Regions from separate parts of the Homo sapiens genome. Here region 1 is linked to region 2. Evidence: promoter capture Hi-C in human tissues and cell types (Jung and others, 2019). All regions are on one chromosome and are shown on one strand. The core of a region is centred on a gene start or on the middle of the fragment in contact, and the rest is flanking DNA. Distances in the headings are between cores, read along the strand shown.

What was found. Contacts are between HindIII fragments. The study calls those that stand out against the background at their distance.
Region 1: a contact is called between a fragment that was not itself captured here and the fragment with the promoter of FUNDC1 in region 2, in 1 of the 25 tissues and cell types used here (adrenal gland).

The regions. Positions count from the first base shown.
Region 1 is chrX:44,879,549-44,885,068 of GRCh38, reverse strand. All of the region lies in intron 2 of KDM6A (lysine demethylase 6A), which reads right to left. Among named protein-coding and RNA genes, the nearest start is that of KDM6A, 9.1 kb to the right of the region's middle. The HindIII fragment of the contact is 5,938 bases long and covers 1-5,520 here.
Region 2 is chrX:44,541,354-44,546,361 of GRCh38, reverse strand. FUNDC1 (FUN14 domain containing 1) reads left to right here and starts at 3,503. Exons shown (of 5, transcript NM_173794.4): 1 at 3,503-3,557; 2 at 4,261-4,417. The coding sequence starts at 3,530. RefSeq lists enhancers at 3,119-3,178, 3,189-3,238, 3,419-3,808. The HindIII fragment of the contact is 19,174 bases long and covers 1-5,008 here.

The DNA.
Region 1 (5,520 bases), core at 1,678-4,177, 340 kb before region 2:
AGTGAGACTTTGTCTCAAAAAAAAAAAAAAAATAGAAATGATGAGGTCGGGTGATTAGGAATTGAGAAAAAGAGATGTCAACAACTATTCCAAGGTTTCTGGCATGGGTAGTGGTAAGTGACATTTACTAAGACAAGGAATATTAAAGACAATTATAAATTCAGTTTGCATATGTTCAGTTTGAGATACCTTCAAGATACCAAGGTAGTCAAGTAGGCAGTCAAACATGTATGTAAATTGGGAACAGGGTGAGTAAAGAGGACCTAAAACACAGCATCCTTGCAAAGACTGAGATGTTGTCAGATACAAAGTCAAAGTAGCAAGGATGTTATGAAAGCCAAGAAAAGGCCTTTTTCAAGAGCTCTTAAGTCTGCCTCCATCTCACCCCATTCCTAAACCACAGCCTTAGTTTAAACTCGTCTCTTCCAAGACGTTACCATTATCCAAGATATTATCTTATACTGAGCACCTTTCATGCACCAAGCCCAATGCCACACACTTTACATTTTTTCCCCTAACACAAAATGCAATAGTCTGCGGGAAATGTATTACTACTTCTACTTTACAGATAAGAAAACTGAGGCTCTGAAAGATGCTTGCTTGCCCAAGGATCACACATCTAGTAAGTGGTAGGAACAGAATTCTATCCTAAAATTCATGCATTGCTATCTACCCATCGGTACTGAAGTTCCTTTCCCTTACACCATATCCTTCTCACAGTGGCCAGTAATATTCCCATAAAACCTACTTCTGGTCATGTCACTTCACCTGATTAGAGAGTTCAGTTTAACAATGCCCCAAAACATCCTACGGCCTATAGTGATGGGGCTTCTCACATGTTCAGTTATCTTTTCCCAATCCCACTGAAACATGCTACCCTCTACCCATACCTGACTATTCACAATTCCTCAAACACCATTTAACTTTATACCTCTAACTCTTTTTTTTTTTTTTTTTTTTTTTTTTGAGATAGAGTTTCACTCTTGTTGCCCAAGCTGGAGTGCAGTGGTGCAATCTCGGCTCACCACAACCTCCACCTCCCGGGTTCAAGCTATTCTCCTGCCTCAGCCTCCCAAGTAGCTGGAATTACAGGCATGCGCCACCACACCCGGTTAATTTTGTATTTTTAGTAGAGATGGGGTTTATCCATGTTGGTCAGGCTGGTCTCGAACTCCCGACCTCAGGTGATCCACCAGCCTCGGCCTCCCAAAGTGCTGGGATTACAACAGGCGTGAGCCTCCACGCTCAGTTTATACTTCTAACTCTTTACCCTCTTTTTCCTCTTGCTACATCTACATGTCTGGTAAATTTCTACATGTTTCATAACCAAGGCTAAATGCTGAATCTTTGTGCAGTTTCCCTCAGTCACTTCTCCAGTCAAAACTAACTGCTCCAGGCCAGGCGGGGTGGCTCACGCTTGTAATCCCAGAACTTTGGGAGACAAAGACGGGAGGATCACTTGAGGCCAAGAGTTCAAGACCAGCCTGGCCAACATGGTGAAACCCCATCTCTACTAAAAATCAAAAAAATTAGCTAGGCATGGTGGCGCACGCTTGTAATCCTAGCTATTCGGGAGGCTGAAGCAGGAGGATCACTTGAACCTGGGAGGTGGAGGTTGCAGTGAGCCAAGATCACACCACTGCACTCCAGCCTGGACGACAGAGCGAGACTCTGTCTCAAAAAACAAACTAACTGCTCCAGCCAGCACAGTGGCTCACACCTGTAATCCCAGGACCTATGGAGGCTGACACGGGCAGATACCTTGAGCCCAGGAGTTAGAGACCAGTCTGGGCAACATAATGAAACCCTGTCTCTACAAAAAAATACAAAAAAGTAGCCAGGCTTGGTGGTTCACGCTTATAGTCCCAGCTACTCAAGAGGCTGAGACAGGAGAATTGCTTGAGCCTGGGAGGCAGAGGTTGCAGTGAGCCGAGATAGCATCGCTGCACTCAGCCTGGGTGACAGCTGACATAGTGAGACCCTGCCTCAAAAAAAAAAAAAAACTTAACTGCTCCAAAATGTGGAGAACCGTTGAAAACAGGAGTTCATTAAACTACCTTCAATACCTGTACATACTTTAAATGATGCATAATAAAAAGTTTTAAATGTTTTAATTACTCCATCATTTCAGAGCTCACAGCACTTTGCATGTATCTTTATTATTACACTTAATACATCATATGATCACTCAGTCTGTCAGCCTCTCCCAACAGACTGACTGCAGGACAGAGGCCAGGTCTTATTGGTTGCCCCAGAACCTGACACAATCCCTCACCCACAGCAGCTCAACAAATGTTTCACCAATCAATCAAGCAAAGCAAAAGCTTTTGTAGTTCTCATTCTGATATTTGAAATTCAGAAACCTAAAATATTTATTTAACTACTGTATCTTGAAAACAAATTTTCCCTAAAAATAAAAACTATCCAGACTCAAGCAACTATGATTCATAAAGTTCTCAGGAAAAATTACCTCTTGTGTCACATATTATGTAATATTCTATCACAGAACACTATAGCAGTATCAAAATACAAACAAAATTCACATCACATACTCAGCTAAACATGTTTTCTACTCATTTTCCAAGCAATTATTTCTTAACTTCCATACAGCAAAAAACAAGGTCCACAGATATTTGAGATTAAGAAATTATTTTACATGTAATAAGGGCATCACGGTTATGTTTCAGAAACAAACATCTATGGATTAAATGCTGTGACTGATTGCTGAGATGTGCTTCAAAATAACATGAGTGAGGGGCAAAATATATATAGATGAAACAGGACTGGTCATGAGTTGCAAACTATTAAAGCTGGGTGATGGTTGATTTGCAATACTTTCTGAAAACACTGAAAATTTTTCCTAATAAACTTTTTTTTCAAAAAGAGAGAAAAATCTAATGAACACGTAATAAATTTGTAGTTTAAAAATAACCCTTTGTCTAAAACAATTTCTTCCACTGTTCTAAACTAAAATGAATTAGATGACCTTATATAATACCCTTAAGTATAACCCCAACTTTCTTCCTGAGAATAAACTTAGCAGCAGCATCTTCTATTTATTCTAACAAAGGCAAAATACTCAGCCAGGCATGGTGGCTCACGCTTGTAATCCCAGCACTTCAGGAGGCCGACGCGGGGGGATCAACTGAGGTCAGGAGTTGGAGACCAGCCTGGCGAACACAGTGAAACCCCATCTCTACTAATAATACAAAAATTAGCTAGGCGTGGTGGTGCACACCTGTAATGTCAGCTACTCAGGAGGCTGAGGAAGGAGAATCGCTCGAACCCTGGAGACGGAGGTTGCAGTGAGTCGAGATTGCGACATTGCACTGCAGCCTGGGCAACAAAAGTGAAATGCCATCTCAAAAAAAAAAAAAAGACAAAATAGTACCACAGAGAAAATTACAAAAAGCATACAAGAATACATTCACAATGGAACACCACCAACAGTTTTAATAATATACAGAAGTAAACAAATGATGGAATATAAGGAAGAAATAGGTAAGAGAAAAAATAATAAAAGCTTATAGAAGAAAGTTGCAAGCAGTCTACAAATTAGCTCAGAAACCTAAAACTGTCTAACAAGGGATTACTCCCACCCTTCCAGGTGACAGTTTTTTTGTTGTTTTTTGTTTTTGAGATGGTGTCTTGCTCTGTCGCCAGGCTGGAGTTCAGTGGCACGATCTCGGCTCACTGCAATCTCCATCTCCTGGGTTCAAGCAATATTCTCCTGCCTCAGCCTCTCGAGTAGCTGGGATTACAGGTACGCGCCATCACACCCAGATAATTTTTGTATTTTTAGTAGAGACGGGGTTTCACCATGTTAGCCAGGCTGGTCTCGAGCTCCTGACCTCGTGATGCCCGCCTCGGCCTCCCAAAGTGCTGGGATTACAGGCATGCGCCACCGCGCCCGGCCCAGGTTACAGTTCTTAATCAGGTCCCAAGTATCAGCCTGTGCCAAATCAGACTCAAAATAAAGTCAGCAATGAAATGCTAAAGATCAAAATGAAGAATGAGCGCAGTGACTGTCACAAAGCCATCTAAAACACAAAGAAATAGGACCTAATTGGGTACATCTCTACTCCATTCACTCCTACCCTCACTGAAGGAACATCAAGTTCAAAAGTATCCCAACTTCAGACTGTAATTAAAATGCAAGAAAGGCCTTTACAAGTATCTCTTCTAACTATAGACATGGTAGTTTAAACCCATTTTTAGTCAACCAAAATATAACATTCTGGTGTACTATCAGAGTACTTTTTTTTGTTTGTTTGTTTGAGATGGAGACATGCTCTGTTGCCCAGGCTGGAGTGCAGTGGCGCGATCTCGGCTCACTGCAACCTCCGCCTCCTTGGTTCAAACAATTCTCCTGCCTCAGCCTCCCAAGTAGCTGGGATTACAGGCGCCCACCACCACGCCTGGCTAATTTTTTGTGTTTTTAGTGGAGATGAGGTTTTGCCACTTTGGCCAGGCTGGTCTCGAACTCCTGACCTCAGTTGATCCATCCGCCTCAGTCTCCCAAAGTGCTGGGATTACAGGCACGAGCCACCACGCCTGGCCTTATTGTATTATTTTTAAGGTAATATATGTCTACGGTGTTAAAAAAAAAAAAAAAAGCAGTACAGAAATCTATAAAACAGTTTAAAATCTCCCCTCCTTCTCACCCCAAAAGTGTCTTGTACTCCAAGATGACCATTAAGTCATCCTGAGTGTCCTTCCAAACTCTGTCAGAGAATTTAAATTGACCCATGAACACTCATTTAAGAATCTCAAGTTAAGAACTCATAACAAGGTAAATATTACTACAAAATGAAATCAAAGAAGGACAGAACACACAGCAGATCATCCTTTGAACATCTGCTAAAAGCTAAAATGTGATTTTTTTTTTTTTTTTTTGAGATGAAGTCTCGCTCTGTCGCCCAGGCTGGAGTGCAGTGGCACCATCTCAGCTCACTGCAACCTCTGCCTCCCAGGTTCAAGCAATTCTCCTGTCTCAGCCTCCCAAGTAGCTGGGACTACAGGTGCACGCCACCACGCCCGGCTAATTTTTATATTTTTAGTAGAGACGTGGTTTCACCATATTGGTCAGGCTGGTCTCAAACTCCTGACCTCAAGTGATCCGCCCACCTCAGCCTCCCAAAGTGCTGGGACTACAGGTGTGAGCCACCACACCCAGCCTTAAAATGTGATTTTTAAATCATGTTTTCCTAAACAAAATTATAAGATGCCTTGCTAACATCTAAATCAAGAAATACCATCTCCAAGAAACACAATCAACAAACAATCCCCATCTTTAAGAGCCATTCTAACTTGTGAATTGTTAAATTTACCTTTCTCATAAACTTTCAGAATATTTCACATTTTTCTTCTCCCAAAGATGGTCCTGTGTTAGTCACCCTTAAACTTATCTCACCCCTCTTAAAGAATTTAAGTTCAACACGGGCAAGAAATATCTATGCTATCTTCATACTATCTACATAGAAGGCTTGCACATAGTGTACATTAATATACTGTTTTAAT
Region 2 (5,008 bases), core at 2,254-4,753:
TGAGTCACCAAGCCCAGCTCTCATTTATTATTATTATTATTATTTTCAAGATGGAGTTTTGCTCTTGTCACCCAGGCTGGAGTGCAATGGTGTGATCTCGGCTCACTGCAACCTCCGCCTCCCGGGTTCAAGTGATTCTCCTGCTTCAGCCTCCCGAGTAGTTGGGATTATAGGTGCCCACCACCACACCCAGCTAATTTTTTGTATTTTTAGTAGAGACGGGGTTTCTCCAAGTTGGTCAGGCCGGTCTCAAACTCCCGGCCTCAGGTGATCCACCTGCCTCGGCCTCCCAAAGTGCTGGGATTACAGGAGTGAGCCACGGTGCCCAGCCCAATCTCTCATCTTAATTGTGTTCTTTTTTGGCTATGTGTTTAGACAGTTTGTGGTCCTCTCCTCCATCCTCTTCCCTCAACTGTAAAAAGTAAAATAGAGGTTCCTCTTCAAAGACGTTCCTCCCGGTCTAATTAGGAATAAATGGTAACTTCTTTTAAAAGCAAAATTTATTCAAAGACCTGTGCTAACATTCTTAAATATCTGCTAGCCATAATAAAGGAATCAATGTATTTTATCTTCTTATCTCCTACAATTTAGCCTCAATATTTGCCCTGGCATGCTTATACTGGTCCAAGCAAGCATTAGGTCATAGCTTGTTCCTCTTCCTTATTTAAAAGTGTTTTTATCTTTCTCAGCATTCCACAAGTTACTTCCTCTTTCCTTTGTTCTCCTCTACCTTTGCCTCTTTTAAAAACTTCCAAGTTGCTAGCCAATCAAGACAAATACAGAATGTGAGGTCCCGTTCCAGCCAGTGGAAACCGGACACAGCAGTAAGGTAGACGCGTCAGGTTATAAATGACCCTGTGTCCTTTGTTCAGTGTACTCTTGTGGCAAAACTGCTAGCGAGTGTTCCCTTTCTGCAAAAAGTAAAAATGGCCTTACTAAATAAATTAAATTTATGTTCAAGTGCTATTTCTTTATGGCACCGGAGAACAAGCATTTCAAACACAACCTTGCAAACCACCTCCATGAACATTAATTTAAATAAAGTGATTGCCAGGATTGTCCACATGCTTTTGCTATCTCTACACAGTGAAATTATACTGGGTCGTAGCAAAAGAGAATTTGATTTTCCAATCAGTTTTAAATTAAAATAAAACATAATTGAAGCTAACAGGCTAATTAGTTGCAGAGATATGGTAAGAAATAAAGGGAGACAAGTTACTCAATAGTTACTAGAAATTAGTATCATAATACAAATGATAATGAAGGTAAGCCATTCAATTTATAGGGATTTTACATGCTTAGGAAAATTCCTTTCCCAGTCAACAAATGACAAAACATAAACTTGCAAGCTATGTGTTAAGTTGGTGCAAAAGTAATTGTGGTTTGCTATTAAAAGTAATTAATAAATAAGAATATTAATAAATGGGCATATTGTAAAAAGAAATAATAAAGTGCCAGGATTTGAAAAGCCAAGTGCATCTATGCAAGCCAATTTTTAAAGTAATGCAATTTATGCCAGAATTCCTTGTTTTTCCATTAAAATGAATACTGAGAGGACTTTTGTTTAATTGTACAGCAGATGCGGGTGCAACGCAAGTTCAAGACAAGTTTCTGGGTTGGTTTATGTGGACTTGGGTTAGCTGCTTGGTGATCAATATGGCTTTGTATTCATAGAATCCCATGGGGTTTCTGGGTGAAGACCTTGACCTTGTTCCTCTGTCAGATTTAAATAATAAGAATGATGCTGGCCGGGTACGGTGGCTCACCCCTGTGATCCCAGCACTTTGGGAGGCCCAGGTGGGTGGATCACTGAGATCAGGAGTTCGAGACCAGCCTGGGCAACATGGTGAAACCCCCTCTCTACTAAAAATACAAAAATTAGCCGGGCGTGGTGGCACGTGCCTGTAATCCCAGCTCCTTGGGATGTTGGGAGGCTGAGGCAGGAGAATCACTTGAATTCGGGAGGTGGAGGTTGCAGTGAGCCGAGATTGTGCCATTGCACTCCAGCCTGGGCAACAGAGCGAGATTCCATCTCAAACAAACAAACAAAAGAATGACACTAAAAAATTATGTCCTCTTGCCAGGTCAGGAATTACGAGGTTTCTAGGCCTTTCTTTACCTCCTTTGGATTCCTGGCAGGAACTCAAGAGAGAGAGCAGGTAAACAGATTCCAACTTCTAGCAGCAGGGCATTAGAAAACTTGTGGTCCCTTTGTGAGCGCTTGCGCCCTTAGAAAAGTATGGCTTGAAACAGGGTTTCTCTTATCTTTTACAAGCCTTTTTCCTCAAGCATTTGAATTCTGGTAATGTTCAAAATACTGTTAAAAAATTATTCTGACAGTATGCAAGTGATGGGCCTGACAAAAAAATTATGGGACACTTCTTAAAATGGTAAGGAAGACTTTGTTCATGACTACTGCAATAGGTATCACAACTATTGCAATACAGCCTGGCATGGTGGCTCACATCTGTAATCCCAGCACTTTGGGAGGCAGAGGCAGGAAGACTGCTTGAGCCCAGAAGTTTAAGAGCAGCCTGGGCAACACAGGGAGACCTACTCTCCACAAAAAATAAAAATAAATTAGCCGGGAGTGGTGATGCACGCCTGGAGTCCTGGGTACTCTGGAGGCTGAGGTGGGCCGATCTCTTGGGCCCAGGAGTTTGAGGCTGCAGTGAGCCATGATAGCGCCACTGCACTCCAGCCTGGTGACAGAGCAATACCTTTTCTCATAAAACAAAGACTATGGCAATAGGGGTGAGTGATGGGTCTCAACTCTGAATACAGCAGGGAATTTATAGTAAATGATCAGAGTGAATGGATCAATGGGTGGAAGATTACCAAGAGTAGACATGAAGGGTAGGGGTATTCTTGCTAAAGCCAATTTAACAGGATTTTTGCTGGTGGCAGAGTGATCAGATATCAAGAGTGGGGTTGAGGAATTCGATCGGATATTGAGGGTGATTCGATATTAAGGGTGGGGGAGTTCTTACTAAACTGACTTAACTGCATTCTTACCACAAATGGACTAGGCAGGTCAAAGACGACCCAAGGAGGAGACCCAGTCAAAAACAGCTCAGAGGAGCCTCCTGACTAAAGTTTGGTCAAGGAGAGAGTCTTTGTCAATACCCAGCTGGTTCTCCCTTTGTACCACCATGTGGCGCCCTTCACCCCATTCCTTCAGCCCTTAAGGCTCTTTTAAAACAAAATAATCAAATTCAAGTTACGGAAATTCTAGGAGGGGCGGTCCCTCCCCCTTCCTAGTTGCGGAAGGCAACGGACTACAAGTCCCCTACGCTCTCGCGGGGCTATGATCCGCCCGGCCCTCCCCACATTCCGGAGTTTCGCGCCTGCGCAGAAGGCAGAAGGTCCTGCGCTGAGAGAAGGGGGCGGAGACAGGACTACGCGCCTGGAGTAGGAGAAGGAGGAAAAAAGAGACCATAGACTTCCATCCTGGCCTAGAGCGGCCCTTAAAGTGCCAGGGAGAGGAGGGCGGGTGGGGACCACTCCAGAATTGGCCGCTGGCGGTATCATGGCGACCCGGAACCCCCCTCCCCAAGGTGAGCGGCCAGGGCCCGAAGTGGTATCTGGGACGCGGCTCACAGCTCTCGACCTTGCTCCTATGGCACCTCTTCCTTCCCCTGCCCTAGGATTCTTCGAGCTCCATTTTTTTTTTAAGGCAGCCCCTTCGAGCACCCCCTCCGAGCTAGACTTTTTCCTCCCCTCTCTGCGGAACTCAAGCGGAGAGCCACCCCCACCCCCAGCACAGCCCTACCTGCCTCCTGCCTTACCTTCACCTCCGGCCCTTCATCTCCCATCTTCAAATGTATTATTTTCTTTTTTTAAACGTCTGGACTCAAGTGATTTCGCTGAGCTCCAGACTAGTTCTCTCAGGAGGACCCCTCCCCACCCCCATTCCTCCCACTGATGAAAATGGACCCTGCTCTGACCTTGACCCTACTAAGGTTTGGAGGTGGGGGTGACCCCTCACTACTGTGTCATTCTGAGTTGGCCCTGGCTTCGTGACCCCAGGCTGGTCCCCGGGCCTTTGGGAAAGCAGATGGGGGTCATTGTTGCAGGGTCCTTTACTCTTGAGGCCCTGGTCTCAAGAATTGAGTTAAATAAAGTCAGTAGTTTCTATGTGGGCATTTTTAGCTGTAGGCCAGAACTAATGAGTTGTAACAGATTTTTAAAAAGATGTATAGAACATTTCTGACTTTTGATTGACTCTACATTTATTTTTTGCATTTTGCTATTTTGAAGACTATGAAAGTGATGACGACTCTTATGAAGTGTTGGATTTAACTGAGTATGCAAGAAGACACCAGTGGTGGAATCGAGTGTTTGGCCACAGTTCGGGACCTATGGTAGAAAAATACTCAGTAGCTACCCAGATTGTAATGGGTGGCGTTACTGGCTGGTGAGAACAACGTCTTTTTCATTAAATTTCATTTGGGGGCCTGACACTGCTGTCCTTTCATACATGGGCAAGAATCACCGTGCACAGGCAGTAGGTCTACACTGTTAATTCCAGAAGAGGCTTTTCTCTGAGTTAAAATTGATGTAATCTACATTCCCAGGCTCCCTGTTGAGTTTTGGCGATCCCCTCCCCCATGCCCACCACTGTTCCTCTTCTCCCTCCTCATCCTTCTTTTGATTCTTTATATAATTTCCCCATTCTCATGTTCAGCAAATGTCGTGGATCTGATTCAGTGATAGTAGATAGGAAGAAATATATGAGTTAATTATATGTAAATTTTTACATTTCATTCAGTGCTAACTGCTGAAAAAACCTAAGAAACTCCCACGGTAGAACTGGCCTCTAGTATTGTCAGCCCTGTACAGAGCAGTGTAAAATGCTCAGTATGAATTATTGGTGATGATACAGATGATTCTGTTTTTTGTGGGCTCGTTCAGATTATGATAACTCTTTGAAAAAGAGCTGTAGAACGTTAATTCTGTGTTTAAAGGTCTGATTGCTTACTTGATAATATTGTGGAGTCCATTAAGA